Regions from separate parts of the Homo sapiens genome. Here region 2 is linked to region 1. The links are contacts of gene promoters, found by promoter capture Hi-C in blood cells and fetal thymus (Javierre and others, 2016). All regions are on one chromosome and are shown on one strand. The core of a region is centred on a gene start or on the middle of the fragment in contact, and the rest is flanking DNA. Distances in the headings are between cores, read along the strand shown. Region 1 holds the start of SLC52A1 (solute carrier family 52 member 1). Region 2 holds the start of MINK1 (misshapen like kinase 1).

What was found. The method cuts DNA at HindIII sites, captures the fragments that hold promoters and counts their contacts. A CHiCAGO score of 5 or more calls a contact.
Region 2: the fragment with the promoter of MINK1 here is called in contact with the fragment with the promoter of SLC52A1 in region 1 in 8 of 17 cell types (neutrophils, monocytes, M0 macrophages and 5 more); the score reaches 8.8 in neutrophils.

What each region holds. Positions count from the first base shown.
Region 1 is chr17:5,030,737-5,037,881 of GRCh38, forward strand. SLC52A1 (solute carrier family 52 member 1) reads right to left here and starts at 4,690. Exons shown (of 5, transcript NM_017986.4): 1 at 4,125-4,690; 2 at 3,741-3,977; 3 at 2,743-3,622; 4 at 2,525-2,648; 5 at 1,866-2,433. The coding sequence starts at 3,870. The coding sequence ends at 2,221. It overlaps LOC105371501 (a long non-coding RNA gene), which reads left to right and starts at 70. Exons shown (of 4, transcript XR_002958101.2): 1 at 70-161; 2 at 285-435; 3 at 838-933. RefSeq lists a silencer at 932-1,021 and an enhancer at 1,042-1,181. The HindIII fragment of the contact is 18,376 bases long and covers 1-7,145 here.
Region 2 is chr17:4,828,107-4,834,768 of GRCh38, forward strand. It overlaps MINK1 (misshapen like kinase 1), which reads left to right and starts at 5,234. Exons shown (of 32, transcript NM_153827.5): 1 at 5,234-5,534. The coding sequence starts at 5,478. RefSeq lists an enhancer at 4,291-5,077 and silencers at 5,055-5,524, 5,535-5,784. The HindIII fragment of the contact is 4,876 bases long and covers 3,591-6,662 here.

The sequences.
Region 1 (7,145 bases), core at 3,440-5,939:
TGGTCTCAACCTTATGGGCTCAAGTGATCCTCCCACCTCAGCCTCCCAAAGTGCTAGGATTACCTGCGTGAGCTATAGCGCCCTGCCTGTTCTGGGCTTCTTGCAGAGCCTCTTCAGCTGCAGAGAAGCAGCTCTCCTTTCTCCAAGTCCAGAGCCAACAGGTGAGGGCTGCAGTCAGAATCTCTGGAGCACACAGACCTGGGCTCCAGCCGTCTCACTAATTAGCTGTGGTACTCTGGGTAAGTCACCTTCTCTGAGTTTCAATTTCCTTTTCTGCAAAACAGGACGAATAATGAAGCTGTTGGGAAGATTTACTGATAATACATGTAAAGGGTCTAGCACATTTTAGGAGCTCAAGGTTGGTGCCTTCCCTTTTTCTTTACTCTGAACCGGATATGAGGCCTTGAGAAAGAAGAGAGGCGCTTGCAAAACGAGGTGAGGTCTCAGGCACAGTGGCTCACGCCTGTAATCCCAGCACTTTAGGAGACCGAGGCGGGCGGATCATGAGGTCAGGAGTTCGAGACCAGCCTGGCCAACATGGTGAAAGCCCGTCTCTACTAAAAATACAAAAATTAGACGGGCATGGTGGTGGGCACCTGTAATCCCGGCTACTTGGGAGGTTGAGGGAGGAGAATCGCTTGAACCCAGGAGGTGGAGGTTGCAGTGAGCCGAGACTGCACCATTGCACTCCAGCCTGGGCAATAGAGCGAGACTCCGTCTCAAGCAAGCAAGCAAGCAAACAAACAAAATAAAAAACGAGGTCAAGTTTCAAAAGATGTCACCCCCAACCTGGCAAAACTTCTCCTCAAGCCCTGTCGTTCCACTCTTGTCCGCCAGGAGGAGAAAAGGTTCCCTCGAAGGACGTCTTTGCTTGCGCGTTCACGGAGCCTTGAGAACGAGTGGCCGAGGGGACCCCTGCGGCCCTGCGCGCCTGTGAGTCTCCCGGGCGGGCGGGCGGTGGGGGTGCGAGGCCGGGGGGTGGGTGCGAGGCGTGGGGGAGGTGCGAGGCGGGCGGGGCGGGGGGCGCGAGGCGGGAGGGCGCACGCGCAGAAGGCTGGCTGGGGTGACGCGGCGCCGGGCTTGGGCTTCTGTATTCCGCGTGTCTGGAGGAAGGTCCGGAGGTGGGCGGGAGCCCTGCGGGGATTTCCTCTTCCCCCAGGACTAGCTGTCATCTTCGTTTTTCAGAAGGGAGGACCTGACTCCTTTCAGAATTAGCATTTCTTCCCCTTCGTGGGTGCTCTTGAGTTCCAAAGAAAAGGAAGAGAAGCCTTCATTGAGCAGCTTCTTCTGCCTTAGGGACTGTGCTAGGGGGTAGATCGACCTTAGGGGAAACAATCCCCGCTTATTAGAGGAGGTTTTGGATCAGGGTTTGCTTTATTTGAAATTTAACAAATACAGAAAAGCAGAAGGAAGAAAATTGAAGTAATCCATGTTTCCACTGGGCGCGGCGGCTCACGCCTATAATCCCAGCACTTTGGGAGGCCAAGGCGGGCGGATCACGAGGTCAGGAGTTCGAGACCAGCCTGACCAACATGGTGAAACCCCCCGTCTCTACTAAAATTACAAAATTAGCCGGTCGTGGTGGCACACGCCTGTAATCCCAGCTACTCAGGAGGCTGAGGCAGGAGAATCGCTTGAACCCGGGAGGCAGAGGTTGCAGTGAGCCGAGATTGCACCACTGCACTCCAGCCTGAGCAACAGAGTGAGACTCCGTTGTCTTTAAAGGCCAATCCCATAGCAAATGACAGAGACTCACTTGAGTAAGAAAGGTTTTTGACAAGAAAACCCACAGAAGAAGAGATAAGCTGTGGATATAAGAAAGGCACTACAATCTGTATTTAAATCTAATTGCACACTAGATAATATATGTATGAAAAATTATTTAATCCAGTTTCCTGATTTCATTATATATTTCTTATAAGGTTTTCATTAGGCTTTTGTTTTTGTTTTTGGTTTTAAATAAAAACACTTTATTGCACAAATCCCACAAAGGTCTCAGGCCCTGGGTCCAAGCCCACAGCCCCAACCTGTCCCCTGGCTCTGGGCCTGGTCTTTGGTGCCCACCCTGGCCTCACATGCCAACGTCTTCTGTGGAGTGTGCAGGTGTCCATGAGCGTTCCTGTGTTGGGGGAAGCCTGCCTGGGCCACAAGTAGTCAGGCACTGTGGCAGCCTCACGATGAAGACAGGTGGGGTGGAGTTGGGTCCCCACCTGCCCAGGCTCAGGGGCCACAGGGGTCTACACAGTCCTTTCTGCTTTGAAACACGTGGTAGATGCTGGTGGGAGGGAACATGGCACCGGCACCAAGCAGGGAGCCCACTTGGATGGCCACACCAGCTGCCAGCAATGCCGGCCGACCCCCACCATGCAGCAGGGAGCTTGCAGCCACCTTCACATATGAGAACACACACAGACACAGCACCCACGACAGCACCTGCAAGGGAGGACACAGCAGCAGGCTGAGCATGACATGCACTTGCTCCAGGGGACACCCTCCTCCCCACTTCATGTCTCCACTTGCTCACCACAAGGACCACCCCTGCAGTGGTGCCCACCAGGGGTGGGCAGGGGCTCAGGATTGCCAGTGCCATCAGGTAGGCCCCAAAGAGCATGCCCAGCAGAGAAAGACCAACCAGCCCTGCCAGGGACCTGTTGGGGATGAGCAGAGACTCAGGGCTGGCTGTTCTGGGACCTGGACCCCAACCTTAAGTTCCACCCACCAAGCCTGGGGACCCTTTTGCACCTGCACAGCACGCCCATGGCCAGGAAGCAGGCAAGGGGGTTGGCGGCACTGCCCAGCACCACAGCCAGGTGGTAGGCCAGGCGCCCATAGGGCAAACAGGAAAAGCTCTGCACAGAAGGCAGCACGCCATTGGTCACGGCACTGGTGAAGGCCATCAGGCCCAGCAGGAAGGCACCATGGGCTGAGAACAGCTGATGGGCCTCAGGGTCTGGGCCAGGGATGGTGCCTGCTGCCTGGCTCGGTGGCTCCTGCAATGGCAAAGCCTCTTCTTCCTCCTTCTCTTCCTCCTCTGCTCCTGGGGATCCCAGTTGAAGTTCAGGCCCTGAGCCCCCTGTGGTTACAGAGGGTAGTGATGGCAACAGCAACAGGAGACCCCGGAAGGCGGCAGCTGAAGTGACCAGAAGGGCAGTCAGTGCCCAGAAGAAGGTGCTGGCAGGAAAACGCTCAGGGAAGTCGAGGGGAGGCCCAGAGGTGCCATTGGTGGGCGCTGGTGGGCACTCGAGGCGGCCCACACCTTGCACTAGGGCCAGCACACAGGGGAGTAGGGCACTGAGACCCTGACCCAGGAAGAAAGACCGTAAGAAAGGAGGTGGCAGGTGGCTCAGGAAGGGCAGGAAAGTGACATTAGAGGTACAACAGGCCATTGCCAACACCAAGGCCAGAGTTAGGAAGGCCACAGAGTGGAGCTGCCCTGCCACTGGGGCCACGTGGTGCCACAGAGGGGCCAGCAGGGCTGTGCCCACTACACTCAGCACCTGTACCACCTGGATGGGGACCTGCTCGCCCTTGCCCGGGGCCAGCTGCCTCCACAGGGTCACCACCAGCAGACCCAGGTTTCCCAGCGCCACAACCACAGAGAGGTATGAGGGGAGGCTCCAACCTGCAGGGAAGGAATGATGCCATGTCAGGAGCACAGTGGCTAAGGGACAAAGAGCTGCCACAGGCCACCTTTCTGGGCATACCTGCCCCACGCTTCCCTGTACCTCCCTCCCACTCACCCTCTGGAAGGTCTTTTACCACCACAGGCAGCTCCACCCAGATCCCGTTCACAGCAGCCCAGGAGCCCATGCCAAAAAGGGCCACCAGCAGGTGGGTCAGCACCAGACGGCCCAGCGTGGGTGCTGCCATTCAGCCCAAAGCTGGACCCTCCAGGACAGGGCAAAGGTCACAGGCAGGTCCTTCCCTAGGTAGGTCCAAAGATGCTTTGGTTCTTCTGGAAACTGAAGACCTTCTAGCTGGAGGGAAACAGACAGGCTGGCAGGTAATAGGCTGGTGGGACAGAACCGGAGTCAGAAGACAAGTCGGTCAGACTGCTAAGACCAGGGCAACTGGAGGGAGAGGTGGCCGGGGGCGGGCGGGGAAGGTGGGGAGCCAGGACTTACCACGGGGCACCGGCTGTGCGTTTGGGTACAGCGACCCAGCAGTGCCGGCAGGCAGACAGGCAGAAAGCTGGCCCGAGGTGCAGCTGCCCCAGAGGAGCAAAGAGGGAGCTGATTTTCCTACCCACAGAGGACCCGGGGTCCAAGTTGTCAAAACAGCTCAGCACTGGCCGGGTGCGGTGGCTCACACCTGTAATCCCAGCACTTTGGGAAGCTGAGGAAGGCAGATCGCCTGAGGTCAGGAGATTGAGACCATCCTGGCCAACATGGTGAAAACCCGTCTCTACTAAAAATACAAAAATTAGCTGGTCGTGGTGGTGGGTGCCAGTAATCCCAGCTACTCAGGAGGCTGAGGCAGGAGATTCACTTGAACCCGGAAGGTGGAGGTTGCAGTGAGCCAAGATCACACCACTGCATTCCAGCCTGGGCGACAGAACGAGATTCGGTCTCAAAAACAAAACAAAACAAAACAAAACAAAAAAACAGCTCGGCACCAACACGCTCACCCTCAAATGGACCCCGGGACAAGGGCACGTCTCTGGTGCCACTTGCAACCCTAGCGCTTTTGCGACACTCAGGACTTGCTGAGGCAGGTCGAGTTGGAGAGGGGAGTGGCTGGGGCGGGCTCTGCCCGGAGGGGCGTCTCCGTGCTGCCCTCCCGCCTGCCTCAGGGGGGCATCCCGGGAGCCGCCAGGTGCGCAGGGGTCCCCGCACCTCCGGATCCGGCAGTCCCCGGACCCAGCGGCTGGCGGTCTGCCTGAGAGGGAGCCCCCTCCGCCGGGGAGGCGGCCCAGCCCAGAGCCCACACAGCTGGGGTTTTGTTGTTTGTTGTTTTAATTAATTAATTAATTTTGAGACGGGGTCTCACTCTGTCACCCAGGCTAGAGCGCAGCGGTGCGCGATCGCGGCTCACTACAGCCTCAACCTCCCAAGCTCAAGGGATCCTCCCACTCAGCCTCTCCCCACCCCCCCACAAGTAGCTGGGACCACAGGCGAGCATCACCATGTCCAGCTAATTTTTTTTTTTTTTTTTTTTTTTTTTGGTAGAGACAAGGTCTCACTATGTTGCTCAGGCTGGCTTGGCACTCCTGGGCTCAAGCAATCTTCCTACCTCAGCCTCCCAAGTAGCTGGGACTACAGACGCACCACACCTAGCTACCGCCACGCTCAGCTGTTTTTACACTTTTTTTTTTTTTTTTTTTTTTTGAGACGGAGTTTTGCTCTTGTTGCCCAGGCTGGAGTGCAATGGCACGAGCCTCTGCCTCCCGGGTTCAAGCCATTCTCCTGCCTCAGCCTCCCGAGTAGCTGGAATTACAGGCGCCCACCACCATGCCCTGCTAATTTTTGTCTTTTTAGTGCACAGGGTCTCGCCATGTTAGCTAGGCTGGTCTTGAACTCCTGACCTCAGGTGATCCACCTGCCCCGGCCTCCCAAAGTGTTGGGGATTACAGGCGTGAGCCACCGTGCCTGGCCAGCTGTTTTTACACTTTTAAATGGTTGAAAAAAAATTAGCTGGACGTGGTGTGCACACCTGGCTAATTTTTGCTTTTTTTTTTTTTTTTTTTTTTTTTTGAGACGGAGTCTCGCTCTGTCGCCCAGGCTGGAGTGCAGTGGCGCGATCTCGGCTCACTGCAAGCTCCACCTTCCAGGTTCACGCCATTCTCCTGCCTCAGACTCCCGAGTAGCTGGGATTACAGACGCCTGCCACCACGCCTGGATAATTTTTGTATTTTTCGTAGAGATGGGGTTTCACCATATTGGCCAGGCTCGTCTCGAACTCCTGACCTCAGGTGATCCGCCCGCCTCAGCCTCCCAAAGTGCTGGGATTACAGGCGTGAGCCACCATGTCTGGCCCTTTAATGATATTTTGTACTTGTTTACTCACTGACCATCTCAGGGATTACCCTGACCTACTACCCATTTTTGTATGGCCTGCTAGCTAAGACAGGTTTTCACATATTTATTTATTTATTTTTATTACTATTTTTGAGAAAGTGTCTTCCTCAAAAGGAAGTGCAGTAGCACAATCACAGCTCACTGCAGCCTCAAATACCTGGGCTCAAGGATCCTCCCACCTCAGCCTCCTGAGCAGCTGGGACTACAAGCACATGCCACCACGTCCAGCTGTTTTTACATTTTTAAATGGTTGGAAAAAAAAATCAATATCTGTAGTCCCAGCTACTCAGGCGTCTGAGGTGAGAGCATCCCTTGAGCACAGGAGGTCAAGGCTGCAATGAGCCATGATTGTGCCAATGTACTCCAGCTTGGGTGACAGTGAGACCCTGTCTAAAACCAAAACAAAACAAAAAACAAAGAAAACAAAAGAATCGTATTTCCTAACCCGTGAAAACTAAAAGCATATGAAATTTAAATTTCGGTAGGCCAGGCGTGGTGGCTCACGCCTGTAATCCCAACACTTTGGGAGGCCGAGGCGGGCTGATCACCTGAGATCAGGAGTTCAAGACCAGCCTGGCCAACATGGTGAACCCCGTCTCTACTAAAAATACACAAATTAGCTGGGTATGGTGGCGGGCGCCTGTAATCCCAGCTACTCGGGAGGCTGAGATATGAGAATCGCTTGAACCAGGGAGGTGGAGGTTGCAGTGAGCTGAGCTTGTGCCACTGCAGTCCAGTCGAGACAACAGAGCGAGACTCCATCCACCCCCCCAAACAAAAAAAAATTTCAGTGTCCATAAATAAAATACTATCAGAACACAGCCAAGCCCATTCATTTACCTATTGTCTACACCTGCTTTCCTGCTATAAGGGCAGAGCTGAATGGTTTCCACAGAGACTGTGTGGCCCTCAAAGCCTAAAATGTTTACTGTCTGGCCATTTACAGAACAAGTTTGCTGGTCTATCTCCCTCACTAGGATGTACGTTTGCGCGGAGGAGGCACTTTGTCTATTTCACTACCTACCCTATTCTCAGTGATCATTATACCACATAGGACGTGCTCAAATTGTTGTTGAATAAATAAACCAATAATACCCTAAAATCTGTTTCTTTCTTTCTTCCAATAAT
Region 2 (6,662 bases), core at 3,984-6,483, 200 kb before region 1:
AACCCAGAATGGAAAAAGGAGCCTCTATGACTGAGGCATTAGTAAATTTATTGAGGACCTAGTATATGCTAAGTGCTTTACATAAATTATTTTATCCTAACCTCCCTATTATTATCATCTCCATTTTACAGATGACAGAGTTGAGCCTCAGAGAGGTTAGTGATTTGCCTAACGCACTACCTCCAAATTCTATGCTTTTTCCTACTATCCCATGGTCTTGACTTTGAACTGCTACAGTGCCCACCCAGACAACAGATGCCTTCATTACTTTTTTTTTTTTTTTTTTGGGGATGGAGTCTCGCTCTGTCGCCCGGGCTGGAGTGCAGTGGCATGATCACAGCTCACTGCAACCTCCGCCTCCCGGGTTCAAGCAATTCCCCTGCCTCAGCCTCCCACCTAGCCGGGATTACAGGTGCACACCACCACGCCCAGCTAATTTTTGTATTTTTCATAGAGACAGGTTTTCACCATATTGGTCAGGCTGGTCTCGAACCCCTGACCTCAGGTGATCCACCCGCCTCAGCCTCCCAAAGTGCTGGGATTACAGGCATGGGCCACGGTGCCTGGCCACCTTCATTGCTTAAGTGTTAGTGATTTTCTTTCTTTTGTTTTTTTTTTAAGCGTTATTGATTTTCTAGTGGGTGCCAGGCCATGTGCTGAACAAGACTAATATTATTCCTGCTTTTAAGGAGATTCAAAAGACATTTACAATTCAAATCATTAAATGTTACCATGGACTAAAGCCAGGCAGCTAAAACAGAAGAACCAAACTTAGTCTTGGTGAGTCAAGGAACGCTTCATGGAGGAGGTGATTTAGACACGTAGGACAAAGCAAAGCACGGTAAGAATGGGCATGGTCAAGAGGCTAGGGAATATTCCAAAGAGAAAACAGAGTACATGCAAAGGTTGGGGGAGAGAAAGTTGAGTTCTGGGAAGTGAGTAGAGTATTTCAGTATGGCTGGAAAATGTGAGGTCTAATAGTTGAGTATTGAAAAGTAAGGCAGGCACTGAGCAGGGTGGTTCATGCCTATAATCCCAGCAACTCAAGAGCCTGAGGCAGGATTAACACTTGAGCCCAGGAGTTGGAGGCTGCCGTAAGCCATGATCGTGCCACTACACTCTAGCCTGGGTGATAGAGCAAGACCCCAACTCCTAAAGAAGCAAACCGTTAACAAAGAAAAAGAAGGCAAGAAAAGCCAGCAGAATCTTGAAGGGTCTTTGATGCCACACTTTGCCTTTTTTTTTTTTTTTTTTTTTTTTTTTTTTATGAGACAGAGTCTCACGCTGTCACCCAGGCGGGAGTGCAGTGGTGCAATCTCAGCTCACTGCAACCTCTGCCTCCTGGGTTCAAGCAATCCTCTTGCCTCAGCCTCCCAAGTAGCTGGGATTATAGGCACACCCCACCACGCCCGGCTAATTTTTTGTATTTTTAGTAGAGACGGCATTTCACCATGTTGGCCAGGCTGGTCTCGAACTCCCAATCTCAGGTGATCCACCTGCCTCAGCCTCCCAAAGTGCGGGGATTACAGGTGTGAGCCACCATGCCCAGCCAATCTGGTTTTTGTTTTGTTTTGAGATGGAGTTTCGCTCTTGTTGCCCAAGCTGGAGTGCAATGGCATGATCTCGGCTCACCACAACCTCCGCCTCCCAGATTCAAGAGATTCTCCTGCCCCGGCCTCCTAAGTAGCTGGGATTACAGGCATGCGCCACCACACACGGCCAATTTTGTATTTTTAGTAGAGACGGGGTTTCTCCATGTTTGTCAGGATGGTCTCGATCTCTTGACCTCGTGATCCACCTGCCTTGGCCTCCCAAAGTGCTGGGATTACAGGCGTGAGCCACCGTGCCTGGCCTTTTTTTTTTTTTTTTTTTTTTGAGACAGAGTCTCGCGCTGTTGCCCAGGCTGGAGTGCAGTCGCCTGCCTTGGCTTCCCCAAGTGCTGGGATTGCAGGCATGAGCCACCACGCCCGGCCAATTTTTTTTTTTTTTTTTTTTGAGACGGAGTCTTGCTCTGTCGCCCAGGCTGGAGTGCAGTGGCACGACCTCGGCTCACTGCAAGCTCCGCCTCCGGGGTTCACACCATTCTCCTGCCTCAGCCTCCGGAGTAGCTGGGACTACAGGCGCCCACCACCACGCCCGGCTAATTTTTTTTTGTATTTTTGGTAGAGACGGGGTTTCACCGTGTTAGCCAGGATGGTCTTGATCTCCTGACCTCGTGATCCTCCCGCCTCAGCCTCCCAAAGTGCTGGGATTACAGGCGTGAGCCACTGCACCCGGCTTTTTTTTTTTTTTTTTTTTTGAGACGTTGTCTTGCTCTGTCACCCAGGCTGGAGTGCAGTGGCACGTTCTCGGCTCACTGCAACCTCTGCCTCCCGGGTTCAAGCGATTCTTCTGCATCGGCATCCCGAATAGCTGGGATTACAGGCGCCTGCCACCATGCCCGGCTAATTTTTGTATTTTTAGTAGAGACATGGTTTCACCATGTTGTCCAGGCTGGTCTCAAACTCCTGACCTCAGGTGATCCACTCGTCTCGGCCTCCCCAAAAGTGCTGGGATTACAGGCGTGAGCCACTGCACCCGGCTTTTTTTTTTTTTTTTTTTTTGAGACGTTGTCTTGCTCTGTCACCCAGGCTGGAGTGCAGTGGCACGTTCTCGGCTCACTGCAACCTCTGCCTCCCGGGTTCAAGCGATTCTTCTGCATCGGCATCCCGAATAGCTGGGATTACAGGCGCCTGCCACCATGCCCGGCTAATTTTTGTATTTTTAGTAGAGACATGGTTTCACCATGTTGTCCAGGCTGGTCTCAAACTCCTGACCTCAGGTGATCCACTCGTCTCGGCCTCCCCAAAAGTGCTGGGATTACAGGCGCAAGCCACCGTGCCCGGCCAATTTTTTGTATTTTTAATAGAGACAGAGTTTCACTATGTCTGCGAGGCTTGGCCGGTTGTGGTGGTTCACGCCTGTAATCCCTGCACTTTGGGAGGCCAATGCAGGTGGATCACCTGAGACCAGGAGTTCGAGACCAGCCTGGCCAACATGATGAAACCCCGTCTCAACTGAAAATACAAAAAATTAGCTACGCGTGGTGGCGTGCACCTGTAATCCCAGCTACTCAGGAGGCTGAGATAGGAGAATTGCTTGAACCCGGGAGGCGGAGGTTGCAGTGAGCCAAGATTGTGCCACTGCACTCCAGCCTGGGCAACGAGAACAAAACTCTGTCTCCACCAAGGTGACATTTTCCACCCTGTGTCCTGTTCCCCAATAAAAACAAATTCACAAATTCACAAAAAAACTAAACTAAACTAAAACTGTCTAAAAAAAAAAAAAAAAAAAAAAAAACAAACAAAAAACCCCACCATGTTGGCCAGGCTGGCCTCCAACTCCTGTCCTCAAGGGATCCTGTAATCTCCGCATTTTGGGAGGCCGAGGCAGGCAGATCACTTGAGGCCAGGGGTTTGAGACCAGATTGGGCGACATGGCAAAGCCCCATCTCTACAAAACATATAAAAATCAGCCAGGTGTAGTGGCATGCGCTGCCTGTAGTCCTGGCTACTTGGGAGGCTGAGGTTGGAGGATAGCTTGAGCCCAGAAGCTTGAGGTTGCAGTGAGCAGAGATCATACCATTGTACTCCAGCCTGGGTGACAGAGCGAGACTTTGTCTTTAAAAAAAAAAAAATAGAGGCTGGGCACAGTGGCTGACGCCTGTAATCCCAGCACTTTGGGAGGCCGAGGCGGGCGGATCACGAGGTCATGAGATCGAGACCATCCTGGCTAACATGGTGAAACCCCGTCTCCACTAAAAATACAAAAAATTAGCCGGGCGAGGTGGCGGGCGCCTGTAGTCCCAGCTACTCAGGAGGCTGAGGCAGGAGAATGGCATGAACCCGGAAAGCGGAGCTTGCAGTGAGCTAAGATCGCACCACTGCACTCCAGCCTGGGCGACAGAGTGAGACTCTGTCTCAAAAAAAAAAAAAAAAAAAAAAAAATAGAATTGACTTGAAGGAGTCAGGCCGGAAGGCCAAATAGGAGATGAATGGGGATAGCGGCTTGAATAAGGGCAGTGGCAAGGAAAATGGGCTAGGGGTTAGGGAAGGGGGCCGACTGGCTGTGCACCCAAATGCTAAAAACGGTCCAGAAAGGAATGTGTTCAGCTATTTTTCAAGGACTTCTAAATTAAACTCTCTTAAATGATGTTTATATTAAGGCTGGTGGTGGAGTCTTTCAGAGGCAGTGTTGGTGCTAGAAGAGCTCTTGAGGATCATACAGCCTCCCCCCTCAATTTCACAGTGAAAGAAAACCTCAGAGAAGCAAAGCAACTTGCTCAAGGTCACACAGCATTTCAGTGGTAGAACATGACTCGTGGTTCTTAGATAGCATTACCCAGCCTCCACTGAGGCTAATGGCTGTAGGCGCTATGCCAACATGACTAGATCTAAGGTGACCCAAGCTATATTTTAAGGGACTGAACGCAGATTCCCTCTCTTCCCCTTCGCCACCCCTTCCTCCACGCGCGACTCCAGTGATCAATGAATAATTGTGGAAACAGTTCCTTTGTGCAGAACACTTTGTTAAAAGAGGTGCAGAGATACACGTCTGCGGTAGGATTCCTTATCCTGAGATCTGAGAGCACCTCGATGCTTCCCCAACCTGCTAGGTGAGGGTGGAAAGGGCATTCCTGAGGCAGCCGGTGCCCCTCCTCTGCCCCCCAACTCCCACGTGGTTTCTCCAGCCAAGTTCTCACGGAGTGGCCCCTCCCTCAGCGGCTCCACTGTTGCCATAGCAATTGGGTGGGTGGACAGCCCGTCCTATCTAGAGGCCACCCAGCCCTCGCGTGGGGAGTTACCATAACAACCCCCTAGTAATAGAGGGGGTTGGGTACCGCCCCCTTCCCCCGCAAATGGAAAGGTGGGTGGCTTGATTGGCAGCTGGGCACACGAAAGAAGGAGGGAAAGGGAAGGAAAGGCGTCAAAGGAGATCTGAGAAGGAAATAAGGGAGAGAAAGGGCAAAAAAAATAGGGAAAGAAAAGGAAACGCGTGTGCGCACGCGCACCAGCTGGTGGGCGCGCTCCGCGGCCGCCTCGGCCGCCGCCCACTTCTTTCACGCCAGGCTCGCGCGGTCGCTCCGTCCTCGCGCGCGCCTTTCGCCTGCTCGCCTGCGCCTGCGCGCAGGTGTCGGCGCCTAGGGGGAGGGGGCCCCGGCGCGCTCGCGTCACGCTCGCGCTTCCACCCTCCCAGTGCGCGGTCGCTCCGCGCCTGCGCAGGAGAGGTGGTAGGCTCGGGTGGCTGGCTCCGGGGAGATAGCGCCTGTCAGTCGGTGGGTCGGTCCTCGCGCCGGCCCTCCCCCTCCCCGGTCTCCGGGGGAGGCGCGGTGGAGTCCGCCCCCGGGGTTCTCCGATGGGGGAGAAGCGGCGACGGCGGCAGTGGAGTAACCGAGCCGGAGCGTGAGCGGCCCCGGTGCCCCGTTCCCCACGGAGGCCATGGGCGACCCAGCCCCCGCCCGCAGCCTGGACGACATCGACCTGTCCGCCCTGCGGGTGAGCGCGCCGTCCCCCAGCCTCGCCCTGGTTCCTGTCCCCGCCGCAGGGGAGGGAGCGGGGTGGCTGCACGCCTCACGTGCTCCCGGGCGCCCCCTCCACCAGCTTGGGTCCCCTTGGCGACCCGTGCCCCTTTCCCGGACTCCCGCCGCGGCTGGGCCCCCGCCCTCTGCTCCCTTCTCTCTCCACTGGCTGCAGATGCTGGGAGCCAGTTCGGTCCCCACCCTGTGGTGCCCCGCCCCCACACTTCCGTGCCACCCTACCTTTACTCTGGGGTTCGGGACCCACTGGTTCGCCTAAACTTAGCCTCCCCCATCACCTGGAGAACCTTTATTGTGGTTCCTTACCTCCTTTCGGCCCTTTTCCACCTTTGCCCTTACTTCTATCTTCTTCCTTCCCCTCCTCTTCCTCAGCTCCTGGAATTTTGACTTTGCAACTGTCTCGACAGCCTCTCTCTCATCCCTCTTTCTCTGCCTCGCCCACCCTTGAATTGCATCCTTTCCCTGGTCGGAATTTCAGCTACCCCACCCCTCGTGCCGTCACCCTCAATCCCATGTTCAGTTTTCCCTATCCCTTCTCTCCTGTTTCAAGTGCAGCAGTTCAGAACCAGGCATTTCCGGTCTCAGGGTCCCTGAATATTACATGACCAACTCTGCAGCAGCGTGGGGCTGGGAGCCCTCGGGGAGGAGGGGAGGCATTTCTTCTCTTTGGAAACTGTAGCACGGGCTGGGAAGAGGATGTTTACACACACACACACGCGCACACACGACACATGCTACATGTGGTCAGGCTGAAGGTTTGGAAAGGCAGTGGGTGTTTATGTTAGCTAAAGGCTGGAAGCAATGGAGACCTCTCAAGGTAGGGGCTAATAAGGAAAGGGGTTGAGAGGAAGCAAATGCTGCAGGAATTTCTTGGAAATACCCGTTCATTGTCCCTTGTGGGGCACTTACACACTCTGGTGGAAGAGCTTTCTGTAGCATTTATGTTTTTCTTCGGCAGGGAGCTTTGGCTTAAGGGGCAACTTAGTGATTTCAAGGTGAACACTCCAGACTATCAGCCAGGTGGTGTTTTGATCCTGTGCCCTTCCAGCGCTCTCACCAGGCCAAGGTGTGGGGAGAGCAGGACTTC